3 separate regions of the Homo sapiens genome follow, and regions 1 and 3 are each linked to region 2. The links are contacts of gene promoters, found by promoter capture Hi-C in blood cells and fetal thymus (Javierre and others, 2016). All regions are on one chromosome and are shown on one strand. The core of a region is centred on a gene start or on the middle of the fragment in contact, and the rest is flanking DNA. Distances in the headings are between cores, read along the strand shown.

Evidence for each region. Contacts are between HindIII fragments. The CHiCAGO score rates a contact against its expected background, and 5 or more counts as called.
Region 1: a fragment that was not itself captured here is called in contact with the fragment with the promoter of ILF3 in region 2 in 5 of 17 cell types (neutrophils, naive CD8 T cells, activated CD4 T cells and 2 more); the score reaches 8.3 in neutrophils.
Region 3: a contact is called between a fragment that was not itself captured here and the fragment with the promoter of ILF3 in region 2, in 1 of 17 cell types (neutrophils). The highest score is 5.1, in neutrophils.

What each region holds. Positions count from the first base shown.
Region 1 is chr19:10,851,726-10,855,473 of GRCh38, reverse strand. All of the region lies in intron 2 of C19orf38 (chromosome 19 open reading frame 38), which reads right to left. Among named protein-coding and RNA genes, the nearest start is that of C19orf38, 5.2 kb to the right of the region's middle. The HindIII fragment of the contact is 2,363 bases long and covers 462-2,824 here.
Region 2 is chr19:10,652,102-10,655,631 of GRCh38, reverse strand. It overlaps ILF3 (interleukin enhancer binding factor 3), which reads right to left and starts at 1,286. Exons shown (of 20, transcript NM_017620.3): 1 at 1,145-1,286. It overlaps ILF3-DT (ILF3 divergent transcript), which reads left to right and starts at 1,760. Exons shown (of 1, transcript NR_024333.1): 1 at 1,760-3,530. RefSeq lists silencers at 959-1,118, 1,199-1,438 and enhancers at 1,529-1,998, 2,239-2,408, 2,274-2,775, 2,776-3,278. The HindIII fragment of the contact is 11,918 bases long and covers 1-3,530 here.
Region 3 is chr19:10,875,490-10,878,996 of GRCh38, reverse strand. The region is part of intron 1 of CARM1 (coactivator associated arginine methyltransferase 1); the gene reads right to left. Among named protein-coding and RNA genes, the nearest start is that of CARM1, 5.7 kb to the right of the region's middle. RefSeq lists enhancers at 1-9, 1,817-2,046, 2,227-2,376. The HindIII fragment of the contact is 1,353 bases long and covers 691-2,043 here.

The sequences.
Region 1 (3,748 bases), core at 394-2,893, 200 kb before region 2:
TCCAGCTACTTCAGAGGCTGAGGCACAAGAATAGTTTGAACCCGGGAAGTGGAGGGTGCACTGAGCTGAGATCGTGCTACTGCACTCCAGCCTGGGTGACACAGAGAGACCCCATCTGAAGAAACAAACAAAAAAAGAGATGGCTGGGCACGGTGGCTCACGCCTGTAATCCCAGCCCTTTGGGAGACTGAGGTGGGTGGATCACCTGAGGTCAGGAGTTCGAGATCAACCTGGCCAACATAGTGAAACCTCGTCTCTACTAAAAATACAAAAATTAGCCAGGTGTTACGTGCCTGTAATCCCAGCTACTTGGGACGCTGAGGCAGGAGAATCGATTGAACCCAAAAGGTGGAGGTTGCAGTGAGCCGAGATTGGGCCATTGCCTTCCAGTCTGGGTGACACAGCTAGAATCTGTCTCAAAAAAAAAAAAAAAAAAAAAAAAAGAATATATATCTGAAGCTTCAGGGCACAATCTTGCCTCCATGAGGGGGAGAAACTACCTGAGAATAAGACAGAAGAGGAGCTGAGAAGGCAAATGCTTTCTGTCATTTTTCAGCACCTGGATCCAGCCATATCTGAAGTCAGCCATGTAAACTGACTTCAGCTCAGTGAACCAACAAATCCCCTCTTGCTGGTAGAGCCAGTGTGAGTCAGGTTTTTATTACTTGCAGTCTGGGTGCCAGTGGCCAGATGACATCCACCCCCAGCCCAACGGTAGACCCTGAGATCCACCCAGAAGCTAGTCACACAGGCATGGGAGTGGCAGTTCCAGAGTCACCTTCTCAGCACAAGACTTCGCTTCCCCTTCCTGGAGAAAGAGGAGATGCCCTGACCCCAAGGGAGGTGAGGAGCTAAGCCAGAAGAGGGAAGAAGACAGACGCTTGGTATTCTCACAATGTCAGCCTTGTTCATTGATTCACCTGGGGCAGAAGGGGTGTTGTCAGCTCCCTACTCCAAGGCCACAAGGCCAAGGTGAGAGAAGGGGGCCTTTGATAGAGGAGCCTGAGGCCGGGAAGGACAGAGAACTGCCCTGTCATAGCTGCATGTTGGCCTCGGCTGGCAACAAGATTATTTTTTGCAGTGAAAAAGTTCTTTTTAAAAGTTTTTTTGGGCCAGGCGCGGTGGCTCATGGCTGTAATCCCAGCACTTTGGGAGGCCGATGTGGGCGGATCACTTGAGGTCAGGAGTTGAAGACCACCCTGGCCAACATGGTGAAACCCCATCTCTACTAAAAAATACAAAAATTAGCAGGGTGTGGTGGTTGGCGCCTGTAGTCCCAGCTACTCGGGAGGCTGAGGCACGAGAATCGCTTGAGCCTGGGAGGCAAAGGTTGCAGTGAGCCGAGATTGGGCCACTGCACTTCAGCCTGGGCGACAGAGTGAGACTCTGTCTCAAAAATTAAAAAAAAAAAAAAGTTTTTACAGACAGGGTCTCCCTCTGTCACCCAGGCTGGAATGCAGTGGTGCGATCATGGCTCACTATATCCTCTACCTCCCCGGCTTAAGTGATCCACCTGCCTCAGCCTACTGACACATGCCAGCAGTCCCTCCTAATTAAAAAAAAAAAAAAAAAAACATTAGCCGGACGGGGTAGCTCACGCCTGTAATCTCAGCACTTTGGGAGGCTGAGGTGGGCGGATCACAAGATCAGGAGATTGAGATCATCCTGGCTAACACTGTGAAACCCCTTCTTACTAAAAAAAAAAATACAAAAAATTAGCTGGGCATGGTGGCACATGCCTGTAGTCCCAGCTACTCGGGAGGCTCTGAGGCAGGAGAATCGCTTGAACCCGGGAGGCAGAGGTTGCAGTGAGCCGAGATCGTGCCACTGTACTCCAGCCTGGGCGACAGACCGAGACTGTCTCAAAAAAAAAAAAAAAATTGGGGGGAGCTGGGCATGGTGGCTCACGCCTGTAATTCCAGCACTTTGTGAGGCCGAGGCAGGCAGAACACCTGAGGTCAGGAGTTTGAGAGCAGCCTGGCCAGCATTGTGAAACCCCATCTCTACTAAAACTCAAAAAGTAGCTGGGCATGGTGGTGCACGCCTGTAATCCCAGCTACTCGGGAGGCTGAGGCAGGAGAATTGCTTGAACCTCGGAGGTAGAGGTTGCAGTGAGACTCGAGAGGCTGAGGCAGGAGAATTGCTTGAACCTCGGAGGTAGAGATTGCAGTGAGCTGGGGTCACACCACTGCACTCCAGCCTGGGCGACAGAGTGAGTCCCTGTCTTTACAAAAAATAGACATATTAGCCAGGCGTGGTGGTGCACGGCTGTAGTCCCAGCTGCTAGGGAGACTGAGAAGGGAAGATTGATTGAGCCCAGGAAGTGGAGGCTGCAGTGAGCTGTGATTGCGCCACTGCACTCTAGCCTGGTCAACAAAGCAAGACCCCTATCTAAAAAAAAAATAAAATAATTTTTTTTTTTTTTTGTAGAGACAGGGTCTCACTATGTTGCCCAGGCTGATCTTGAACTCCTTGGCTCAAGGAATCGTCCTGCCTCAGCCTCCCAAAGTCCTGGGCTTATAGGCGTGGGTCATTGCACCCGGCCAGGAAAGTTCTGACTGATGGTAACACAGAAGGCCACCAAAGGCTCCTCCCTCCTGCTTCTTGACCCATAACCCATGTCCAGCCTCCTCATTCAGAGATCAGAAAAGGACATCAGCCCTGCCAGGGTTCCCTCACTCAGGTGAAAAGATCGAATCCTTGCTGTGGTCTACAAGACCCCCCACGATCCTCCTGGTGAACTCCCTGCCCCGCCTCTCCCCATTTTCCTCCTTGTTCACCATCCTTCAGCCATACTGGGCTCCTCAGACACACCAGGGAAGCTTCAGCCTCGGGGCCTTTGCACATCCTGTATCCTCTGCCTGCAACACATGCCCTGGATATCCACATGATTGGCTCCTCCTCATCATTCAGTTTTTTGCTCAAATGCCACCTCCTCAGAGAGGGCTTCCCTGATTGCCCTACTCTACTTCAGAGTCCAGAGGGCTGACCATTAGAACATGGGGCCAGTCGCCCTACTCTACTTCAAATAATGACATCCTCACCCAGGTGGATTTCATCTGGTGCCCTGCTGGCAGGTTGAATATATATTGGATTTCATGTTTATCATCTGTCCTCATCCGCCTGGAATGTCAGCCTGGAATGTCTTTGGGCAAGCCCAAAGACAGTTCTTGGTCCATAGTAAGTGCTCAGAAACCTTATGTGGCTCATGCTGGGCATGGTGACTCACATCTGTAATCCCAGCTACTCTGGAGGCCGAGGTGGGAGGATCACTTGAGGTTAAGAGTTCAAGACTAGCCTGGTCAATATCTTTTTTTTTTTTGAGACAGAATCTTGCTCTGTCACCCATGCTGGAGTGCAATGGCACTGTCTTGGCTCACTGTAACCTCCGCCTCCCAGATTCAAATGATCCTCCTGCCTCAGCCTCCTGAGTAGCTGGGATTACACACGCATGCCACCACACCCAGCTATTTTTTGTATTTTTTTTTTTTTTTTTTTTGAGACGGAGTCTCGCTCTGTCGCCCAGGCCGGACTGCGGACTGCAGTGGCGCAATCTCGGCTCACTGCAAGCTCTGCTTCCCGGGTTCACGCCATTCTCCTGCCTCAGCCTCCCGAGTAGCTGGGACTACAGGTGCCCGCCACCGCGCCCGGCTAATTTTTTGTATTTTTAGTAGAGACGGGGTTTCACCTTGTTAGCCAGGATGGTCTCAATCTCCTGACCTCATGATCCACCCGCCTCGGCCTCCCA
Region 2 (3,530 bases), core at 37-2,536:
TTAAAGAGAGCAAAATCTTGAAAAAGATTCAGCAGCAGTGAATTACCGGAGTCCAGAAAAAGAAACCACTGAAACCGACGCTTCGTTGCTGATCCATGTCACCTAAGCAGCAACTGGCAAACAATGTTGGAAATGTGGAGAAGAGATCCCTCATTCTCCTCAAATTTGGCCACTGAACTGGGGGAGGAGCATGCAGACCGCCGTACACCCCAAATAATTCATCCAGGCGGTGAATTAACTGGGGCAGAACCTCATGAGTAACCTCGAGAATCTCAATCGTTCAACTACTTGAGAAAATAAAGGTAGAAATGGGTTTTAAGCATCCACGTTTCGGGGCCCAGGCTTGCACCCAAGTAGATTGCCGGTCTAGAGAAGGCAAATACTAACAATCTGGAAAAACATTCAACAATGAAAACAAACTAACTAAAGAAAAAGCTGAAACCCTCTCAAGTTTTGACCCTGATCTGAGAGAGGCCTGGCTGACCAGAGATTTGGAAACCCGACGAACCCACAAAGGCTTCCTCAGCAATCCGCGTGGGAAGGGGCTTCCAAGGAGGGGGTCCGCCTCTCCGCGACCTGTGAGGACAAAGGAGGCGACTTTTCCCGCCTCGGGAACCTGGGACTCTCCTGGAATCGGGGGCGGGACCGGGACAAAGAGGAGGAGGGGGTAGGGAAGGAGTGAGGAAGGGGGGTCGCCCCGCCGCGGAACTCGGGACCCGAGGGGGTGTGTGCTCCAAGCACGTGCGCGCGTCCCCAGGACCCCCGCAACAGACAAAAGCCCAGCCGCGGGGAGGCGGCAGCCGGGGGCCCGGTGCGCGCGCACCCCCCCGCGCGTGGCGCCGCCGCCGGCCGAGGGGCCGCGTGCGGGGGGGAGCGGCTGCGCGCGCACCGAGTCCTCGCCGCCGCCGCAGCCGCCATTTTGTTTCCTCCGCACAATGGAAGAGAGTTAACGGCCGAGCGCGGGAGCGAGGCCGGCAAGGGAGGAACGGGCCAGGCGCCGGGATGAGGGAACCGGGCGGAGGCGGCGAGCGTGGGATCCCTCCAGCCTTGTCACCGCGAACCCTCAGTGGGGATCTCACTGAGGGCGGGCGGGGGGAGGGGCAGAGGCGGGAGCGGGCCCGGCCGCCGCCACATTGACGCTTACCTTGTCGGCGTCCCCTTCTTCGACCGCAGCCGCCGCCGCCGCCCTCCTGCCACAGCCCGCCGGGGTCTGCCCCCAAAAGCCACGCGGTGCGCGCCGGGCTGCTGGGTCCAACTGCAATGGCGAGAAGAGGAGGAGGAGGAGTCCGGACCGGGGGCGAGCGGGCGGGCGGGCAGGCGCGCGCCGGGGAGGTGCGGGAACACGTGACCGGCTGAAGCCCCGCCCCCTTTGACGCCGCGTTGCGCCTCGACGCAGGCCCAACCCAAATGGGAGGGAGGGGCGAAAAGAGATAAGGGGGGGGCTGAGGGGGTGGGCGTGAGTTGCACGTGGTGCAAGCGGGAGTGTTTGCGTGCGTAGTCACGTGACTTCGGCACCTTTCCCTCCGCTTTCGATAGGTTGCTCCATCATGTGACAATGGCGAATTTCGCGGTTTCCTTCGCCATCTGACAACTTTTGGCGCCTTCCCTTTGCCGTACTGGGAGTCCTCCATCACGTGACGAGGGCACGCTCTGGTTTTCGCTAAGGCGTTTTTTGAGCGGCCATTACCACGTGATGCAAGGCAAGCGTCAGAGGCGGAGCCTCCCTACGGCTGCGACATTTTGCGCCTGCGCGGCCGCCATCTTACGCCCGTCGCCCTGAGTACGTTAGCGGAAATGGCTCCGAGAGGCTTTGACGCATGTGTACCTTTTTAGTGGCGGTATCTCGGCCGGGGATTTTCGGGCTCCAGTGGAGGTGGCTATGCTCACCCCATCTCCCTTGAGAGGCACAGAAGGTTAGAGATGTGTGCGAGGAACGGCCAGGTCCAGCGTCTCCTCGTTGCTGCCCCTTGAGCCCGGGACCGGCGCCAATGCGCGCCCGGGTTCTTGGGTTCTTTCGTCCCGCAGACCTGCCTTGGTGTGGCGTCCCTGGGCCGTAGCTTCCGAAGGCTGCAGCCGACCTGGTCGGGGTCCTCTAGCCCGCCTTCCCCTTCCCCCATTGACAGATGGAGAAACTGAGGCCCAGGCCAAAAAATATCTCACTAGAGGGCTCACCGCCATTTCCTGGAAAAATTGGGGCTGGGACTCAACGGACGCTCGTCCAGCAGCAGCGCGGAGCTCCGAAGTAAAGGCGCCCGTGACCGAGTGCTTTGTCCTTACAAGCGTGGTGTTCTTGAATGCTTCCAGGCGCCTTATGAGGCCCCCGATGTACAATCTGTGCTTAACTAAACCCCACTGTCTTCCAGGGTCAGGTTGGCCATCCGCAGGCGTAGTTGCTAGGAAGGTTTGACAGATGTCCGCCTGTTGATTCAGACGTTCCCAGGATTTGGAGCAAGAAGAGCAAGGAAGGCCAGGCGCGGTGGCTCACGTTTGTAATCCCAGCACTTTGGGAGGCCGAGGCGGGCGGATCACGAGGTCAGGAGTTCGAGACCAGCCTGGCCAGCATGGTGAAACCCCGTCTCTACTAAAAATACAAAAGAAAATTAGCCGGGTGTGGTGGCACATGCCTGTAGTCCCACCTACTTGGGAGGCTGAGGCAGGAGAATTGTTTGACCTGGCAGGCGGAGGTTGCAGTGAGCCGAGATTGCGCCACTGCACTCCAGTCTGGGCGACAGAGCGAGACTCTGTCTCAGAAAAAAAAAAGAGCAAGGAGGTGTTGAAAATGGGTTTCCTGGCTGGGCGTGGTGGCTCACGCTTGTAATCCCAGCACTTTGGGAAGCTGAGGTGGGCGGATCACTTGAGGTCAGGAGTTTGAGACCAGCCTGGCCAACATGGTGAAACACCGTCTCCACTAAAAATAGAAAAATTAACTGGGTGTGGTGGAGGGCGCCTGTAATCCCAGCTAATCAGGAAGCTGAGACAGGAGGATCGCTTGAACCCAGGAGGCGGAGGTTGCAGTGAGCCGAGATTGCTCCATTGCACTCCAGCCTGGGCGATAGAGTGAGACTCAGCCTCAAAAAAAAAAAAAAAAAAAAATTCGCCAGGTGTGGTGGTGTGCGCCTATAATCCCAGCTACTCAGGAGGCAGAGGCACAAGAATGGCTTGAATCACTTGAACCTGGGAGGCAGAGGTTACAATGAGCCGAGATGGCACCACTGCACTCCAGCCTGGGCGACAGAGCGAGACTCCGACTTCCCATCTTAAAAAAAAAAAAAAAAAAAAAAAAGAAGTGTAAAGATGTGATTATGTGGCAGGGGGTAAGGGTTAAAAAGAAAACAAGAACAAGTTTTCCTCTGCTTAGCCAGCTTACTTCAAGGACAGTTATAACACTGAAAAGTCGAGGCCAAAGGAATGGGCTCCAGACAGCCTCCTCCGGAGCAAAGTTGAAAAGAAAAATTCCTTTACTGTCTCTCCTTTTCTGAACCATTAAATATGACTGTTTGCCAATGGTTGTATTTAGTAAGATTTGTAGA
Region 3 (3,507 bases), core at 118-2,617, 220 kb before region 2:
CGTCTCTACTAAAAATACAAAAATTAGCCAGCCGTGGTGGCACACGCCTGTAGTCCCAGATACTTGGGAGGCTGAGGCAGGAGAATCGCTTGAACCCGGGAGGCAGAGGATGCAGTGAGCTGAGATCACACCACTGCACTGCAGCCCCTGGGCAACAGAGCGAGACACCATCTCAAAAAAAAAAAAAAAGCCGGGGGGAGGACCTGGATCTGGGAACTTCCAAGAGCCCAGGAGACTTTGGCACCTGACAATCTTCACACTTTAGCATTAGAGCACAAAAAATAAAATGCCATCGTGTTTAATTAAGCCTCTGCTACTTTGGGTCTTTGTGATGAACAGATAAATGTCACTGAACCACTTATATATGCATTTAAGGTGGGCATCCAGTCACCCAGAATGCCAAAGCCATCTCTGCTGCCTGCCAACCACATCACTTTGGCCAGTCAAGTTCTTTCATTTCTGTTTTTCCACCAGTAAATTGGGGTTGGTATCTCTGACCTCACAGAACTCTTTTCAGAGTAAGTGGTAACATACAGTAAGCGCCACAATTGGCACAAGGGGCTCACACAATTCAGAAGTATGCTCTATTCGGCCTGAGGATTTTTTGGTTTCTCTTTTGGCTGGGGCCAAACTCCCCACAGACCCCAACTCCTGCCTGCCTCATTCATTTATCCCAGGGGTCTACAAGCTTCCCCTGCCTCGGGCCAGTGAGTAAATATTTCAGGTTTTGCAGGACACTGTGGTCTCAACTGATTATTGTTGTTTGTGGATTGGGTTTTAGTTTTTTTCCCTAATCAATCTCTCAAAAACTGTAAAAGCCTTTCTTAGCTTTGTCTGTACAAAAATAGGCCACACCGGGCCCAGCGGTTCGTGACTATAATCCCAGCTACTTCTGAGGCTCAGGCAGGAGGAGGATGGTTTGAGGCCAGGGGTTTGGGGCCAGCCTGGGAAACACAGCAAGACTCTGTCTCTAAAAAAATTGCTTAAATTAGCCAAGGGTGGTGACATGTGCTTGTAGTCCCAGCTACTTGGGAGGATGAGGCCAGAGGATCACTTGAGCCCAGGAGTTAGAGGCTGCAGTGAGCTACTAAAATACAAAAAATTAGCTGGGCATGGCGGCATGTGCCTGTAATCCCAGCTACTCGGGAGGCTGAGACAGGAGAATCGCTTGAACCTGGGAGGCAGAGGTTGCAGTGAGCCGAGATTGCGCCACTGCATTCCAGCCTGGGCAACAGAGCGAGATTCCATCTCAAAATAAATAAATAATAAAACACAGGCTGGGTGCGGTGGCTCGCACCTGTAATCCCAGCATTTTGGGAGGCTGAGGCAGGCAGATTATTTGAGGTCAGGAGTTCGAGGCCAGCCTGGCCAAGATGGTGAAACCCTGTCTCTACTAAAAATACAAAAATTAGCCAGGGTGGTGGCACAGGCCTGTAATCCCAGCTACTCAGGAGGGTGAGGCATGAGAATCACTTGAACCTGGGAGGTGGAGGTTACAGTGAGCCAAGACCATGCCATTGCACTCCAGCCTGGGCAACACAGTGAGACTCTGTCTCACTAATAAAATACAAACACAGATAAAAATAGGCCACAGGCTCAATGTGGCCCATAGGCCTAATTTATATCACTGCCCTTTCCCTAGCTGCCCCCAAGGTCAAGCATTTTGAGTCAACACAAGTTTATGCACAGTCTGGTACGGGATAAATGCTCAATAAATGACGGTATCCATTAGCCACACGCAGGCACCGCTGAAACACAAATGCCTTTCTGGGGTTACTAACTTTCCCTGTTGTCACTCCAGCTTGACACCGAGATGTCCTAAAGATGGGGCACATAACAAGCTCTTCTATACCCCTGCCCCAGCTGTCAGGGGGATCCCAGGAGTGTAACCAAAGGAAGTCACAAGGGCCCCTGGTTCGGTGACAGCAGGCCATTCTTCACCTTCTTTGGACAAAGGGTTTTTCTCTGAACTTTCCACCCCATGGCATGCCCCTCACAAACTGAAGTTTAGCCCCTGACGGAGCCCATGCTGCTGTGTAAGCTTCTGAGCCAAGGGGATGGGAGAGTCTAAAGCACTGGCCACACTGACTCGTGCTGACCAAGAAAGAAAAGTGACACAGTCATTTCCAGAAAGAGCGCCACAGGGCTGGGGAAGTGAGAGTTTGTTCTGTTCTCTTTCCCGGCACCCCTCCCTGAGAAACTGCCTCCTTTCCAAGGGAGGGCAGCCTATGCCCAGGAACTCCAGAGGCCATGCCAAAGCTTCCTCAAGCCCAGGAAGCCCACGCCAAAGGGCCTCCCCCTCTGCACAGGGAAAATGGCCTGGTGTTGGTAGTTGCCATTTGGCCAATCTCATGGACGTAGGCCAGGGTGACTTCAGATGGCAAGAAGTAACTGTTCACTACAGAGTGACAGAGACAGGCCCTTCTGCAGCTGTCATCCTTCCCCTGGAGGGTGCAGACGTCAAGGAACAGGGCTGGAAGTCCTCCCCACGTGCCTCTCCTGGGCCTCCTATGTTAGGTACAGATCATGGCCCAGGACTCCCTCCCATGGCCGGTGAGCCAAGACAGCGGGGCAGCCCTGGAGCATAGGGGGCTCCTCCTAGAAAAGCTAGCTCATTCCCATGCCACACCAACGAACACTGCTGTCAGTAACATGGACATAAATATTTATTGGCCGGGCGCAGTGGCTCACGTCTGTAATCCTAGCACTTTGGGAGGCCAAGGCAGGAGGACTGCTTGAGCCCAGGAGTTCAAGACCAGCCTGGGCAAAATAGTGAGACCGCATCGCTAGAAGAAACTTAAAAATTAGCCATATGTGAGGCTGGTGGCGGTGGCTCACACCTGTAATCCCAGCACTTTAGGAGGCCAAGGTGGGCGGATCACCTGAGGTCAGGAGTTCGAGACCAGCCTGACCAACACGGAGAAACCCCATCTCTACTAAAAATACAAAAAAAATTAACCGGGCATGGTGGCACATGCCTCTAATCCCTGTAATCCCAGGACTTTGGGAGGCCAAAGCAGGCGAATCGCTCGAACCCGGGAGGCAGAGGTTGCAGTGAGCCGAGATCACGCCATTGCACTCCAGCCTGGGCAAAATTCCATCTCAAAAAAAAAAAAAAGACAGACATCCAAGTTGTAACCCCTGGAATCTGTGAAGGTGACCTTATTAGGAAATAGGGTCTTTGCAGATAAGGATCTTGAGATGAGATCATCCTAGATATAAAGTGGGCCCTAAATCCAATGCCCAGTGTCCTTATAAGAAAAGAACAGCTGGGGCCGGGCACGGTGGCTCAAGCCTGTAATCCCAGCACTTTGGGAGGCCAAGGTGGGCAGATCACGAGGTCAGGAGATGGAGACCATCCTGGCTAACACGGTGAAACCCCGTCTCTACTAAAAATACAAAGAATTAGCCGGGCGTGGTGGCGGGCGCCTGTAGTCCCAGCTACCCGGGAGGCTGAGGCAGGAGAATGGCCTGAACCCAGGAGGCAGAGCTTGCAGTAAGCGGAGA